2 separate regions of the Homo sapiens genome follow, and region 2 is linked to region 1. The links are contacts of gene promoters, found by promoter capture Hi-C in human tissues and cell types (Jung and others, 2019). All regions are on one chromosome and are shown on one strand. Each heading gives the region's core, a stretch centred on a gene start or on the middle of the fragment in contact. The rest is flanking DNA. Distances are from core to core; before and after follow the strand shown. Region 1 holds the start of NKX2-1 (NK2 homeobox 1). Region 2 holds the start of BRMS1L (BRMS1 like transcriptional repressor).

Region 1 (6,649 bases), core at 90-2,589:
CGCGCAGCCTGCCGGCGCCGCGCCTTCTGGACGGCTCTCGCCGCACCTCCTGAGCTCAGCCCGCGGCCCCGCAGTGGGGCGGCCTCACTTACTGGCGGGGAAGCGCGGGTCTGGGTTGGCGCCGTACCATCCGGGGCCAGAGGCGCTGTTCCTCATGGTGTCCTGGTACGGCGGCAGCTCGCTCATGTTGCCCAGGTTGCCGTTGCAGTAGCCCCCCACGGCGGAGTGCGAGAGCTGGGGCACCCCCGCCGCCGTCATGTGGTAGGCGGCGGTGACGGCGCCGTGGTGCCCCACGGCGTGCTGCTGCATGGCCGCTGTTGGCGGTGCCGCCTGGCCCTGCCTGTACGCCGCCAGCGGAGCCCCGAGGCCGCCGCCCTCCATGCCCACTTTCTTGTAGCTTTCCTCCAGGGGACTCAAGATGTCAGACACTGAGAACGGAGTCGTGTGCTTTGGACTCATCGACATGATTCGGCGGCGGCTGGAGGAGGAAGGAAGAGGAGGAAAAAAAAGGGAGAGGGGGAAGGCGAAGCCTCGCTGCTTTTTTTTTCTCCCTTTGCCAAATATTCTGGTGTTACCTTAACGCCGATCTTGTTGGATGTACACGTAACGGAGTGGACCGAGTCCTCCTTAATTGGCTTGAGTGGAGGCTCGGGGGCTGCCTCGCGTTTGTTTTAGCCCGGCGCCAGGTTTTAGGCAGCCACCAGAGGCGGGGCGTAAGCGCTAAAGCAACAAGACAATAGAAGCCTACATCTTGCCCGAGATAATTAGCTTACATGCTGATGACAAGGTAAACACCTTTAAGTTTCACTTGTCAGGATTTTTAGGTCTCAAAGAGAGAGAGAGAGAGGCAGAGACGAGACCCAAAGCATTTCCCCCCTCCCTTGGACACCCCCACCCCCATTTTTTGTGGGGTACCAGCGGAGCGCGGGGAGGAGGTGGAGGGGAGGGGAAGGAGGAGGGAACCGAGAGCGGGGAGGGCAGGAGGTGGGGTGGGGGAGTAACAGAGGAGGAGAGATGGTTGAGAGGAAGGAAGGTGAATGCTGCTTTGCAACCAACTTGCGGAGTTACAAAGTGGAACCACTTTCCAATTCGGTCGGGGTTCCCCGGGCACGGACAGGTCTTTAGGAGGAGGGGGCTGAGGGACAGGGTGGGGGTTTCACCTGAGCCTGCCGGGGCTGCTCCTCCCTCCCGCCGCGGCCTCCCAGCCCCGCGCCTTCCCACTGCCTCCGGACCACATCGGGCTTCGCTGCGCTGAGCCCCAGTCGCCAACAAATGAGCGAGCGAGTCTGGGGACGAACCCTGGGGCCGCACTGTTGGTCTACGTGTCTGTCAGTCTGTCTGCCTCTCTTCTGCCGCCGTCAGAGGGACACCTCTGCTCCCCGCCCCCTTTCCCCCTACCGGAGAGAATCCGAGCGGGCGGAGGGGGCGCTGAGTAGGGGATCGACTGCCTCCCGGAGGCTGTCCCGGATCCCCGAGCCACAACCCGCCCCCGCAGCTCAGGGGTTTTTCAGTGGGCCACCCCCGCTAACACGCCTCCCCCAAGGTCTTCCCCCCCCCCCCCCACCCCCGGCCGAGCAAACACAGCACTGGCCCCCAGAGCTGGGAGGATGGGAAGGGGTCTCACGGGAGGGTCCGTCACTGAAGTTGCCCCACCTCGAACAAACCTGGTGTCCCTGACCCTCGCCCATCTCCCAGACACGCGGGGATCTGGGGCTGGAGCTGACTTTCCGAGGACATCACAGCCCCAGCACCCGAGCCCAGAGCCACGCTGTTTTCCCCTCTGATGCTTCAGGGAGCGCGCGAGCAGGGAGCGGCGTGAGTGCCCGTCTGTCTGTTGCCGGGCGGAACTGAGCCTGAACCCCGGCGGCTGGAGCGCTGGCCAGGAGGGGGCGAATGCCGAGGTGCGGGCAGCTCAGCGGGCGGGAGGCTGGGCCGAGGCTCGCCTCCGCCCGCAGCTCAGCCATGCAAAAGTGCTCTTGCTTCCCGGGAATAACCAAATATCTTTGTTTAAAGTGGTGGCGTAAATGGCCAGTCGCTTTGTGGCCACGCTGGATATTAGTAGATGAGGATCATTCTGCTTCAATTGGGCGCCTCTCATCCGACGAGCAAGAAACTGCTTAGGAGGAAGAGGGTTTCCTGTCTGCGCGTTCCCAGGCTTCAAGTGTGGGCCCCGCGCCTTGAGGGTCCTTGGGCGCCTGGCGAGGGGGAGCTGTGGGCTGCGCTCCCCAGCGGAATCGGGGGTGTCCCCCGCGTTGCTCCGGCCAGGCCGGGGCCTGCAGCCGAGTCGACTACCGAGTGGAGCACTGAACGGCGCGGATTTTGAGACCGACTCCGGTTTTTGTCCTTGGATTTTAAACGTTTTTATCATTGTTTTTGTTTTGCTTTCTCCTTAGCTGTTTTAGTCTCCTCTGCGCGCCAGGGGCTGGGAGGGCGGAGCGCTCCCCGGCCGGCCCCGGCAGGTGCCTCCAAGACACCCGCGCTGGTCAAGGAGCTTCTTGAATTTAGTTTTTGTTTTCACATTTTCTTTCCCCTCCTTGTAGAGAAGGAGCTCCTGATCATGACGAACAGGCAGTTTTGAGCTACTTAATTCATCCGGGCTCCCTTTTTTTATTAATAGCAATTACAGTAGAGAAAGTTTTATTTATTTTTAAAGATTTCAGCCCTCTCCTTGAAGAGAGCTCTTACTCCCTCAATACAAAGCCAACTTCTATAATAACATTCGCTTTTCTCACCGCCTACCTTCTTTACCAGGGTAAAGAAAGCTCAGGACACCCTCCGCCCTCCCACCTGCGCCCGCGTTTTTGTGCGGTCCCCACGGCAGAGCTGGGGAGGCCACCCTACGTTTGCGCAGGGAGACGCGCTCGCCGCTGGTGTTGCGAAAGACCAGAGCGAAGCCCGGCTCCTTGCCCTTCCTTCCCAGGGGCTTCTCTGGGGGGCGCTCTCAGGCCCCGACGAACTGAGCATTGATCACTGTGGTGGCTAAGCAAGGAGGGGAGGCGACGCCGGGCTTAAGCGAACCACAGAGGAGAACTGGCAACGCTGAATACAGACCTTGTCTGCAGGCGCGACCTGGCCGGGCCTGAGTCCCGAATGGGGTCTAATTGCGAAGGCGGGGTGGGTTTCCCAGTCACCCAGCTTCTTTCTCTCACTCGCCATTATTTCATAGTTGTTTGTAAGTTTAAGGAACACCAAGTGTAGAATGTTGTACATCTCTTCCAGTCTCAACGCCATTTAGAAATGGAGATCAATCTTCACAAGGTTTTTGTGAGATTCAAGTAAGATGAAGCACATCAAAATGCTTTGAAAGCTTTGAATGTTTTTCAGCTCAGTGCCAGCACTGGAGATTGCGGTAGTTATTATCATGACTATCCCCACCCCCTCTTAGGTCCCAAGACCTGAGTAAAAGGAAGAGTTGGGTGAATCTTCCACAGCCCCTAGGTCCTGTCTTCTCGGCCTTCGTCCCTTGGCAGCTTTTCAACCTCTCAGCAGGCCACAGGCGCACGTGGCTGGCAGCTCCCCGGCCTCCGGCTCTGACAGTCCGGGGGCAACCAGGCCTGCAGTTCTCGAGGAAACCCCCAGCCCCCCACGTCTCGTTCTGGACCAGGAACCCCCTCCCCAACAACCGCGCAGCAAGTGGCGACTCTGGGAGCTGAACTGGAGTGGAGCTCGAAGTGGCTGGGGCGGGCAAAGACTCCCGCTTCACTCTGGGACACAACTGGGACGGCGCTTCAACCTCTGCCTGCAGGCGTGCTTCTCGCGCGCACCAGCAAGCTCTCTATCCACCTCGCCTGGGCCTTTGCAGCGCCCTGCCGCCCAGGCTCCAGCGCCTCTACTACCCTAGCCCCTTCTCAACACGCGGCTCTGCCTTCTTCCCCAGTACCACTGCACTGCCGAAAATAAGCCCGGAGACTAACGCACCTTGTAGGGAAGAGAAGGACATCTGTATCTCCAAGCTTATCCAAGCAAAGGCCTCCAGAGTCCCTCCCATGGCCCGAAACACCTCCCTCTGACCGAAGAGCGTCCTTTCTTTCCGCCGCCTCCTGGACTCATCCTAAATAGGGCAGACCCGGGCTAAACCAGTGATTTTTTTTTCCATGAATACGAAGAACCCCGATTGCACTTTGCGAAGTCTGCGCGTATTCCTTTATCCCGCAACTAGCTTGCTCCCGGGTGGAGTGGGCACAGTGGGGAGCGGTCAGGGCAGGGCAGGGCCCAACGCTGGCCCCTCGCGGAGCTTTCCCTGGCGCGACCTCACACGGTCGCTGCCTCTATTCCGACCACGCTCTGCTTCGCTGGCTGCGGCTCCGCCAGGAATCCGAGGGGGCGCAGGCCCAGGCTCGGCCCTAGATGCGCGGAATCGCCATCAGCCTTTGCTTACACCAGCGTGGCCGCAGGGAAACTCCTTTCTCTCCCTCCAGTGTCACTTTGCGAGACAAGAACAGAGGGCTCATACAAAAGAAGGCTAATTTGGGGTCTGTAGCTTGGACCAGGTGGAACTGTGAGGAGGAACCACCTGTCTCACCGCCCCACCCCCCAACTGCTTTTTCTAACTCCCTTTGTGGTCCTCCACACCTGTTTAGGGCGCTGAGCCACTCTGTCTCCTGGTAGTGTTATTTTGCTCCAAGTTTTATCGCAATTTTTGATTCACTCGACAGTATTTATTCAGCTAGGGCTCTGTGCCAGGGACTACGCAAGGCCTGAAAATTCAAACTTAATCTAGATGCAGCTCCTACTCACACGGAACTTACACATTCACAATAAATCACCCAAATAATATGTAGTTACTTTCTGACAGATGTTACTCTAGGATCCAGTGAGATAGAGAGGGTTGTAATGGAGATTCGTGTGTGGGTTTTTGCACCATTTCTTGATCTCTCAGCATTCCAAGGTCGTGAGAGGAGTCCTTGAGTGGAAGTCCGTCCTAGGTTTGAACCCTGGCTTTGCCTTTTTCCAGCTGTGCAGTACCGCTCTTGTGGGCTCCCGCCACACCCTGGAGTCACTCCCATCACAGCCAGAGTAAACCAGTGTGTGTTTTCTGGCTTCCCTCCTTGAGGGTGAGCCCCTGTTTTATCTATCTTTGAACCCCCCAGTGCCTCGAGAAACGCTGAGGAAACACAGCCTCCGAGCACCTGTTTCCTGAGCTGTAAAAAATGGTCACAACCTGCCCTGTGTACTGGCTTGGTTTGTGCTAGGGATCCAAACAATTCAGGATGAGATCATGTGCCTGAGTTTGTAGATCACAAAAGTCGCTAATAGAAGGAGTTATTCCTTCTGATTCTGTATTTTGGATTTAGAGAAACTGTGACTCTAGGCCTCTGACCTTCAACAAGAAACACTTGGGCCCCTCAGTTGCTCCCGCAGTCTCCCACAGCTAGGCACAGGCTTCTAAGCCGGGCTGAGCTGGGCTCGCGAGTGCCATCGAGGCAACCAGGCGCAGGGAGCGGAAGGCAGGAGTGTAACTGGGCGCTGGGGGGCGCTGCTCCGCAACCCCAAGATCCGAGGAATGCCTCCGGGGGATGATTTCTCTGGAGGGGTCTCGCAGGGCCCCCTCTGCGCTGCTTTCTCAGGCACCAGAACCGAAATCCTCGGGAGGGACCGCGGGAGCCCGGGGCGTGCAGACAGGCGGCTTTCACAGACGCAGCGGGAGGAAGGATCCCTCTACTGCTCCCTTTCCCGATTTGACCGTCTAGGGCCTTTGAGAGGACTTTCCTTTTGGGAAAGCTTTTCTCAATTCGTGGCCTGTGGGCAGGCTGGGGGGTGGGGCGCCAAGTCATCCGAGCGCGGCTTCTGCTTCTCCCTTTCCCTCACAGGCATGCTCTACGGAGGGTATGGGAGGCGAGGGCGCGTCTATGAGGGCCAGAGTCCGCGAAGAGAGTCCGGCCCTTAGGCCTTTGGTGTTGAAGAATCTGCTCCTCTGTCGGGTCAAGCCCCACTAGAAGTTAACACCTGTGGTCTCCAAACTTGCCTATTTTCCTGTCACGCAGTTCAAGCCAAGATTCAACTCGTCTTGAATTTTTGTATTTAGAGCCCCTACCTTCTCCACCGACTCCAGGGGCGCCCTCTGGCGGGAAGGGGCCTGGGGTAGGAGGGAACCTGAGGGAGCGGGTTACAAAGCAGAGAACAGCGGGAGCTCAGCAGCTCCCTTTGAATTGCGAGGAAACCAAGACGGAGACGGGAGGTAGGAGCACGGGCCTGAAGCGGTCAGCCGACCCTGTGAGGCCCGCGCTGCCGTGCTACGCCGCGAATCCGCCAGACGCCCCCGTCGGAAGGGGCAGGGACACCCTCGGGGGCGCTCTAGGGTTCGTGCTGCGCTAAGGTAAGTTTCGCAGCTGCTCCTGATAATTAAAGGACAGATTCCCGAAGCATCCTTGTGGCGGCGCGGCTGTTTTCGCCCCAGGACCTGTGCAGCCTCATTCAGCTTTAGGTAGTCGAAACCTATAGCTCTTTCTGCCCTCTGTTCCCCAACAAATCTCAGTCCCAACAGTGGGAGCCCGTGGGCCTTGGGTGTTCGAGTTTCCCGCGGGCTTGCCAGCAGCGCTGGGGTTCCCTCCTCCGCTCCTTTCCTCCTCTCCAACCTCCCACCACAGCCCGTCTCCCCCACATCCCCAACACTTGTCCCAGGCAGTTTCCGGTGGCCGCAGTATCGACC
Region 2 (7,490 bases), core at 1,535-4,034, 690 kb before region 1:
CTCTGGAGATTGGGTTTCACCATATTGGCCAGGCTGGTCTTGAACTCCTGACCTCAAGTGATCCACTCGCCTCGGCCTCCTAAAGTGTGGGGACTACAGGCGTTAGCCACCCTGCCGGCCTGTACTATCTTTCAATAGCAAATTGCCACTTCAAGAAGAAGAAACCCTGTCGTTATAAGGGGTAAAATATAGTTTTAAGATTGGTCTGCAAATGAAGTTTCCTTATCCGTAAAATGGGAATAACAATGGCACCTAACTCAGGGCTATTAAATTGAGAATTAAACTCACTAAACCCATGTAAAGGGCTTACCAAGATACCTGATACAGAGGATAAATGGTCACTTAATGAGTTATGATACCTATTGAGGCTTCCTTGTCTATGTACCCTTTATTTATTTATTTATTTATTTATTTATTTTTATTGATCATTCTTGGGTGTTTCTCGCAGAGGGGGATTTGGCAGGGTCATAGGACAATAGTGGAGGGAAGGTCAGCAGATAAACAAGTGAACAAAGGTCTCTGGTTTTCCTAGGCAGAGGACCCTGCGGCCTTCCGCAGTGTTTGTGTCCCTGGGTACCTGAGATTAGGGAGTGGTGATGACTCTTAACGAGCATGCTGCCTTCAAGCATCTGTTTAACAAAGCACATCTTGCACCGACCTTAATCCATTTAACCCTGAGTGGACACAGCACATGTTTCAGAGAGCACAGGGTTGGGGGTAAGGTCACAGATCAACAGGATCCCAAGGCAGAAGAAGTTTTCTTAGTACAGAACAAAATGACAAGTCTCCCATGTCTACTTCTTTCTACACAGACACGGCAACCATCCGATTTCTCAATCTTTTCCCCACCTTTCCCGCCTTTCTATTCCACAAAGCCGCCATTGTCATCCTGGCCCGTTCTCAATGAGCTGTTGGGCACACCTCCCAGACGGGGTGGTGGCCGGGCAGAGGGGCTCCTCACTTCCCAGTAGGGGCGGCCGGGCAGAGGCGCCCCTCACCTCCCGGGCGGGGCGGCTGGCCGGGCAGGGGGCTGACCCCCAACCTCCCTCCCAGAAGGGGCGGCTGGCCGGGCGGGGCGCTGACCCCCCCACCTCCCTCCCGGAAGGGGCGGCTGGCCGGGCGGGGCGCTGACCCCCCCACCTCCCTCCCGTCCGGGAGGCTGGCCTGGCGGGGGCTGACCCCCACCTCCCTCCCGGACGGGGTGGCTGCCGGGCGGAGACGCTCTTCACTTCCCAGACGGGGTGGCTGCCGGACGGAGGGGCTCCTCACTTCTCAGACGGGGCGGCTGCCGGGCGGAGGGGCTCCTCACTTCTCAGACGGGGCGGTTGCCGGGCAGAGGGTCTCCTCACTTCTCAGACGGGGTGGCCGGGCAGAGACGCTCCTCACCTCCCAGACGGGGTCGCGGCTGGGCAGAGGCGCTCCTCACATCCCAGACGGGGCGGCGGGGCAGAGGTGCTCCCCACATCCCAGACGATGGGCTGCCAGGCAGAGACGCTCCTCACTTCCTAGATGGGATGGCGGCCGGGCAGAGACGCTCCTCACTTTCCAGACTGGGCAGCCAGGTAGAGGGGCTCCTCACATCCCAGACGATGGGCGGCCAGGCAGAGACGCTCCTCACTTCCCAGACGGGGTGGCGGCCGGGCAGAGGCTGCAATCTCGGCTCTTTGGGAGGCCAAGGCAGGCGGCTGGGAGGTGGTTGTAGCGAGCCGAGATCACGCCACTGCACTCCAGCCTGGGCACCATTGAGCACTGAGTGAACGAGACTCCGTCTGCAATCCCGGCACCTCGGGAGGTCGGGGCTGGCGGATCATTCGCGGTTAGGAGCTGGAGACCAGCCCGGCCAACACAGCGAAACCGTCTCCACCAAAAAAATACGAAAACCAGTCAGGCGTGGCGGCACGCGCCTGCAATCGCAGGCACTCGGCAGGCTGAGGCAGGAGAATCAGGCAGGGAGGTTGCAGTGAGCCGAGATGGCAGCAGTACAGTCCAGCTTCGGCTCGGCATCAGTGGGAGACCGTGGAAAGAGAGGGAGAGGGAGACCGTGGAGAGGGCGAGGGCGAGGGCGAGGGCGAGGGAGAGGGAGAGGGAGCTATGTACCCTTTTTTTGAGAAAGTACATCTGGTTAAGTATGTATTTTTCATTGAAAACTAAAGTTAAATCAGGACTGATGGCATTTTCCGACTGCATTTGGTAAAAAATAAATGCCAAAAATATTAGATTGAAAATGCCAAGATAAAACTTCCTTACCTTCTGTATTGTAAAAGTTTCAAGAATAATTTAAAGATTTTTGCACAACACAGAAAGTGCAAGTTATCGTCTATAGTTAATAATTAAATAAAACAGTTTATTAATGGTAGGTAATAAAGGTGCTTAGTAAAACAGATGGTTCTCCAGTTCCCCAGGCTCAATGAGCAGGCAAAGATCCTTTTAGGCAAAAGACATTTTCACATCTAACAGTAACATCTCTGATGGTCAGGCAGGTCAAACAATCACTTGGCGGGAAATAGATAAATACAGACTAAATTCGCACAATCTGTTTCTGTTTAGTTTATAAACTGCGATCCAGAGTGTCAGCTTTCGTGCCTTGTGGGACTTGAAGTCCAGAAGGAAGAAGTGATCAGGGCTGCCGAGGGATGGAAGCGTGCAGCCCCTGCAGGTCTGAGACCTACGAACTACAACTCCCGGCAAGCATCGGAAGGCCGCGTCGTAATTGCGGGCAACCAATCGTACCAGAGCAGGGCAAGCCCCCGCCCTCTGGCTCGGTGGAAGGCCTCCGCCAATGGCAGAGCTCCCATCGCAGAGCCTGCGGGTTAGGTTGTGAGGCCCGGGCCGGGGGCGGGGAGGAGCCAAGGGGGCGAGCAAGCTCGGTGGCTGGGTGGGTTGGGGCGTTCCGCGCGCCCTTCATTGAAGCGGCGGTGGCCGGGCTGGGCGCCGGTAGTGGAAAGCGACGGCGCGGCTGGAAAATGCCAGTCCATTCCCGAGGGGATAAGAAGGAGACCAACCATCACGATGAGATGGAGGTGGACTACGCCGAAAATGAGGGGAGCAGCTCCGAGGACGAGGACACTGAGAGCTCGTCGGTCTCCGAGGATGGAGATAGCTCAGGTGCGCGACCCACTGCTGGGACCCTGAGTCCCCGCGCCCAGCGCGCGACAGGCCGCTCTCCGCACGCCAGGCGGCTGCGTCCTGCTGGGAAAGCGGGGCGGGGACAGAGGGAAGGGGCGGAGACTGGCTCTGGGCCCTGGGCTGCACCCTGACCGGTCGCTGGGCGCTGTCTGGCTCCTGATGGGTCCCGGCGGCGGGGCGGGGCGGGCCTGGGCTTGTCCAGCTCCCAAACGCGGCGTGGTCCTGCCCCCGGTGGTGCTCTGGAGCGACCAGCCCAGGCGGACAACTTCCCGCAGCAGACAAACTGGAAATGCCTCCTCTCCCCAGCCCACCGACCTCTTTCCCTATTTTCACCTTTGCAACCCTCACTTCTCAGCGCAAGTGAGTTGCCGGGACAGAGGGTCGGCTTAGTAATTAACCTCAGTTTGCAAGTCAACTTGCCGGTCAGCACTTTTACATCAGTGTCTTTTCGGGGGCTAACTTGAGAGCGGTCCCGTTCAGTAGCTCCCTGAAGTTTGCAAGACTGAGAGGAAGGGACCAACATTCGGGCTCATTTTGGATCTTCATATGCTTATAAATTGGCTGAGTTTTGGCAGCGTTGAAAATTCTCCAAGTCTTTTCTTCCCTTCAGTTTTTTCTAACTTTGGGCTGTTTTAAATTATTTTGGGTGGGGGAGGAGGGCAGATTAACACTACAAATAAATTTTGCAAACTTTTAGGAATGGTTATTCTAAAGTGAAATGGAATTTGTGATTACCGGGATTATTTTCTTTCGATTCAAATGATGGAGATGAGACTGACTTCTTTGTCTTGGCCTGATTTTGGTCATGTAAAGGAAGCATTGATGATAGGTTGATGACAGCCTAGTATCACCCAGATGCCCTCTTTTCATGTTTCCCTTGCAAAGCAAATCTCCATGGAAGGATATAATTTCAATCAGTAAATCAGCCATCCAAAAATATTTATGAGTGACTTCTTTGTGCAGCACTGGACAGTACTCAATATGAGGGATAAATAGTTATTATCTGGGCTCACTTAAAAAGCTATCATAAGTCACCACTTGATTAAATTGCCAAATGAATGCTTAACTAAATGTTGCTGTAGGAATTCAGAGGCAGAGGAAATCGTTTCAATATTGGGTGGTCACAAAGCCTAGCTGAAGAAGGTGGGATTACCTTAATTATCTTGAAGAATGAGTAGAATTTGGTTTGGGGTGGTGGGTATCCCTGCAGGGAGAGGGATGTAAGAAAAAGTACAAGGGCCAGAGTTTGGGGCTTATTCAAAAGAGCGTGAAAACCTTGGGAGAAGGAGTTGAGCTCGGAAAAGAACAGGAAAGTATAGATGTGAGTGATTTCAAAGAAAGCACAAAACAGGATTGATGAATGCAAGTTTAGGATTGAAGGTAAGAGAAAAACCAAGATACAAGGAGAGTGGCGGTAGCATCAACAGAAATAGAAAAGTGAAAGATTTGAGATGAAGGTGAAAGAAAAGAGTATTTCAGACATGTTGCTTTTTTTTTTCTTTTCTCTCTTTGAGATGGAGTCTCGCTCTGTTGCCCAGGCTGGAGTGTAATGGCGTGATCTTGGCTCACTGCAACCTCCGCCTCCTGGGTTCAAGCAATTCTCCTGCCTTAGCCTCCCGAGTAGCTGTGATTATAGGCGGGTGCCACCACACCAAGCTAATTTTTTGTATTTTTAGTAGAGACAGGGTTTCTCCATGTTGTCCAGGCTGGTCTCGAACTCCTGACCTCGTGATCCACCCACTTCAACCTCCCAATGTGCTGGGATTACAGGCATGAGCTACCATTCCCAGCCTTTTTTTTTTTTTTTTTTTGAGAAGGAGTTTTGCTCTTGGCACCCAGGCTGGAGTGCAATGGCATCATCTTGGCTCACTGCAACCTCCACCTCCAGGGTACAAGCAATTCTCCTGCCTCAGCCTCCCGAGTAGCTGGGATTACAGGCATGCGCCGCCACGCTCAGATAATTTTTGTGTTTCACCATGTTGGCCAGGATGGTCTTGAACTCCTGACCTCAGGTGATCTGCCTGCCTCGGCCTCCCCAAGTGTTAGGATTATAGGTGTGAGCCACCGTGCCTGGCCGACGTGTTGCTTTTGGAGTGATGGCAGTATGCTTAAGATTGCCCAACTGACAAATGGAAATGTGACATTGGAACCTGCCCGATATGGGAAGGGGAGAATAATTTGTAAGTCATCTGCCTTGCCATGAAAGTAGGTGAGATTTCAAAAGCGGGGAATATAGAGAAAGGAGACTGTATGGGAATATATTTCTTTTTTTTTTTTCTTTTTTTTGAGACAGTCTTGCTCTGTCACCCAGGCTGGAGTGCAGTGGCACGATCTTGGCTCGCTGCAACCTCTGCCTCCTGGATTAGATTCTCCAGCCTCAGCCTCCTGAGTAGCTGGGATTACAGGCATCCTCCAACACACCCGGCTAATTTTTGTGTTTTTAGTAGAGATGGGGTTTTGCCACGTTGGCCAGGCTGGTCTTGAACTCCTGACTTCAAGTGATCCACCCGACTCTGCCTCCCAAAGTGCTGGGATTACAGGCGGGAGCCACTGCACCTGGCCTGTTGGTGAATATGTTTCTTAGATCTATAAAGTATTTTGTCTTCAGATGTTCTTGCATTTATGATAGGAGCAAGGATCTCATAAAATTCTATTTGTTAAAATTCTCCCCCTATAATTTTTATGTTGACTCTTGTGATTTTTAACTTTTAAAAATTCCATCCCAAAAAATAATGAACAACTTAATTTTTGAAGAATGTGATAATAATTTGAACTACAAGTCAAAATTTTAAGTGCAAAGAAATTGTTTAAATAAATTTTGCAGTTTGCTTCTGTTAAAGCATCTCTGTTCTACCATATGTCTTTCATGTTAAACTTTCACAGTGTTTTCTTCTCAAATGTTGGTGCTGAGCAAATTCTAAGGCTACGGAAAAGCCTCTACTATCCAGAGAACTTGGATAGTGAGTCATCTTGAGGGACCAAGTTTTGAGTAGCCAAGAAGTAAGCAATCAAAAGCCAGAAGTATTTTTAATCTGTTTTAGAAAATGAGAAAAAAATGAGTCAGCCTTCCATGTTATATAAAAATAATTGAACATGATTTAACTCTTTCTCATAGTTTGACTTTTATTTGATGAAGATCAAGATGCAGATCATTTTGTGCTTCAGTTATTTTGATGAATGAATATATGTGATATGAACATAGAAAATGTGGACTATAGGACAGACCTGGTAATTAACAGTTGCTTTCCTTAAAAAGTTTGTATTTTCCTCCTCATTTGCCTCTTTCTCACTGATAGTAATATGGGTAGACGGAATAAGGGAACGTAGGAATGGCAGACCAGGAGAGCCTGTGGTAAACATAATAAGATTAGTTTTCCTTTTTCTTTTTCTTTTTTTTTCCTTTTTTTGAGATGGAGTTTCGCTCTTGTTGCCCAGGCTAGAGTGCAATGGCACGATCTTGGCTCACCACAACCTCCACCTCCTGGGTTCAAGCGATTCTCCTGCCTCAACCTCCCAGGTAGCTGGGATTACAGGCATGTGCCACCACGCCCAGCTAATTTTGTATTTTTAGTAGAGATGGGTTTTCTCCATGTTGGTCAGGCTGGTCTCGAACTCCTGACCTCAGGTGATCCGCCTGCCTCAGCCTCCCAAAGTGCTGGGATTACAGGAGTGAGCCACCATGCCTGGCCTTTCTTTCACTTTTTATTTTTGAGACAGGATCTCTGTTGCCCAGGCTGGCGCAATCTTGGCTCACTGCAACCTCTGCCTATCAAGTTCAAACGATCCTCCCACTTCGGTCTCTCGAGCAGTTGGGACTACAGGCATCCACCACTATGTCTGGCTAATTTTTGTATTTTTATTAGAGATGGGGTTTCACCATGTTGCCCAGGCTGGTCTTGAACGCTTGAGCTCGAGCAATCCTCCAGCCTCAGCCTCCCAAAGTGCTGGGATTACAGGCATGAGCCACCACACCCGGCCACTTTTCTTTTTTTATGTGACAGGCAAATCAGCCATGTGAGCAGTTCTGAAAGAAGAATCCCAAAAATGTTTTTGAGCAATGTTAGCCTTTAAAGGACACAGTCATTTTGGTGCTACATTCTGGTGAGTTGGTGGAAAACAAACCAAATGTGGGCTAATTACTTTATAGTTATAGCTTATAGTCAGTCCTTTAAAGTGATTTAAAAATGAATAAAAGTAAGAGGGTCTAGAGACCAGTATAGTTTTATATACTCATCTGTATTTTAGATTAAATCTATAGTGGATTTTTTTTTTTTTTTTTTTTAGACTAGGTCACTCTGTCACCCAGGGTGGAGTGCAGTGTCACAATCATGGCTTACTGCAGCCTCCAACTCCTGGGCTCAGGC

Evidence for each region. Contacts are between HindIII fragments. The study calls those that stand out against the background at their distance.
Region 2: the fragment with the promoter of BRMS1L here is called in contact with the fragment with the promoter of NKX2-1 in region 1 in 1 of the 25 tissues and cell types used here (neural progenitor cells).

Annotation. Positions count from the first base shown.
Region 1 is chr14:36,518,893-36,525,541 of GRCh38, forward strand. NKX2-1 (NK2 homeobox 1) reads right to left here and starts at 1,340. Exons shown (of 3, transcript NM_001079668.3): 1 at 1,161-1,340; 2 at 93-478. The coding sequence starts at 1,237. SFTA3 (surfactant associated 3) reads right to left here and starts at 664. Exons shown (of 5, transcript NR_161365.1): 1 at 576-664. It overlaps NKX2-1-AS1 (NKX2-1 antisense RNA 1), which reads left to right and starts at 386. Exons shown (of 2, transcript NR_103710.1): 1 at 386-787; 2 at 2,752-4,124. LOC105370453 (a long non-coding RNA gene) reads left to right here and starts at 5,797. Exons shown (of 3, transcript XR_001750715.2): 1 at 5,797-6,316. RefSeq lists enhancers at 756-1,755, 1,756-2,755, 2,756-3,755, 5,974-6,649. The HindIII fragment of the contact is 7,239 bases long and covers 1-3,630 here.
Region 2 is chr14:35,823,554-35,831,043 of GRCh38, forward strand. BRMS1L (BRMS1 like transcriptional repressor) reads left to right here and starts at 2,785. Exons shown (of 10, transcript NM_032352.4): 1 at 2,785-3,105. The coding sequence starts at 2,964. RefSeq lists silencers at 2,826-2,925, 3,176-3,345. The HindIII fragment of the contact is 14,376 bases long and covers 1-7,490 here.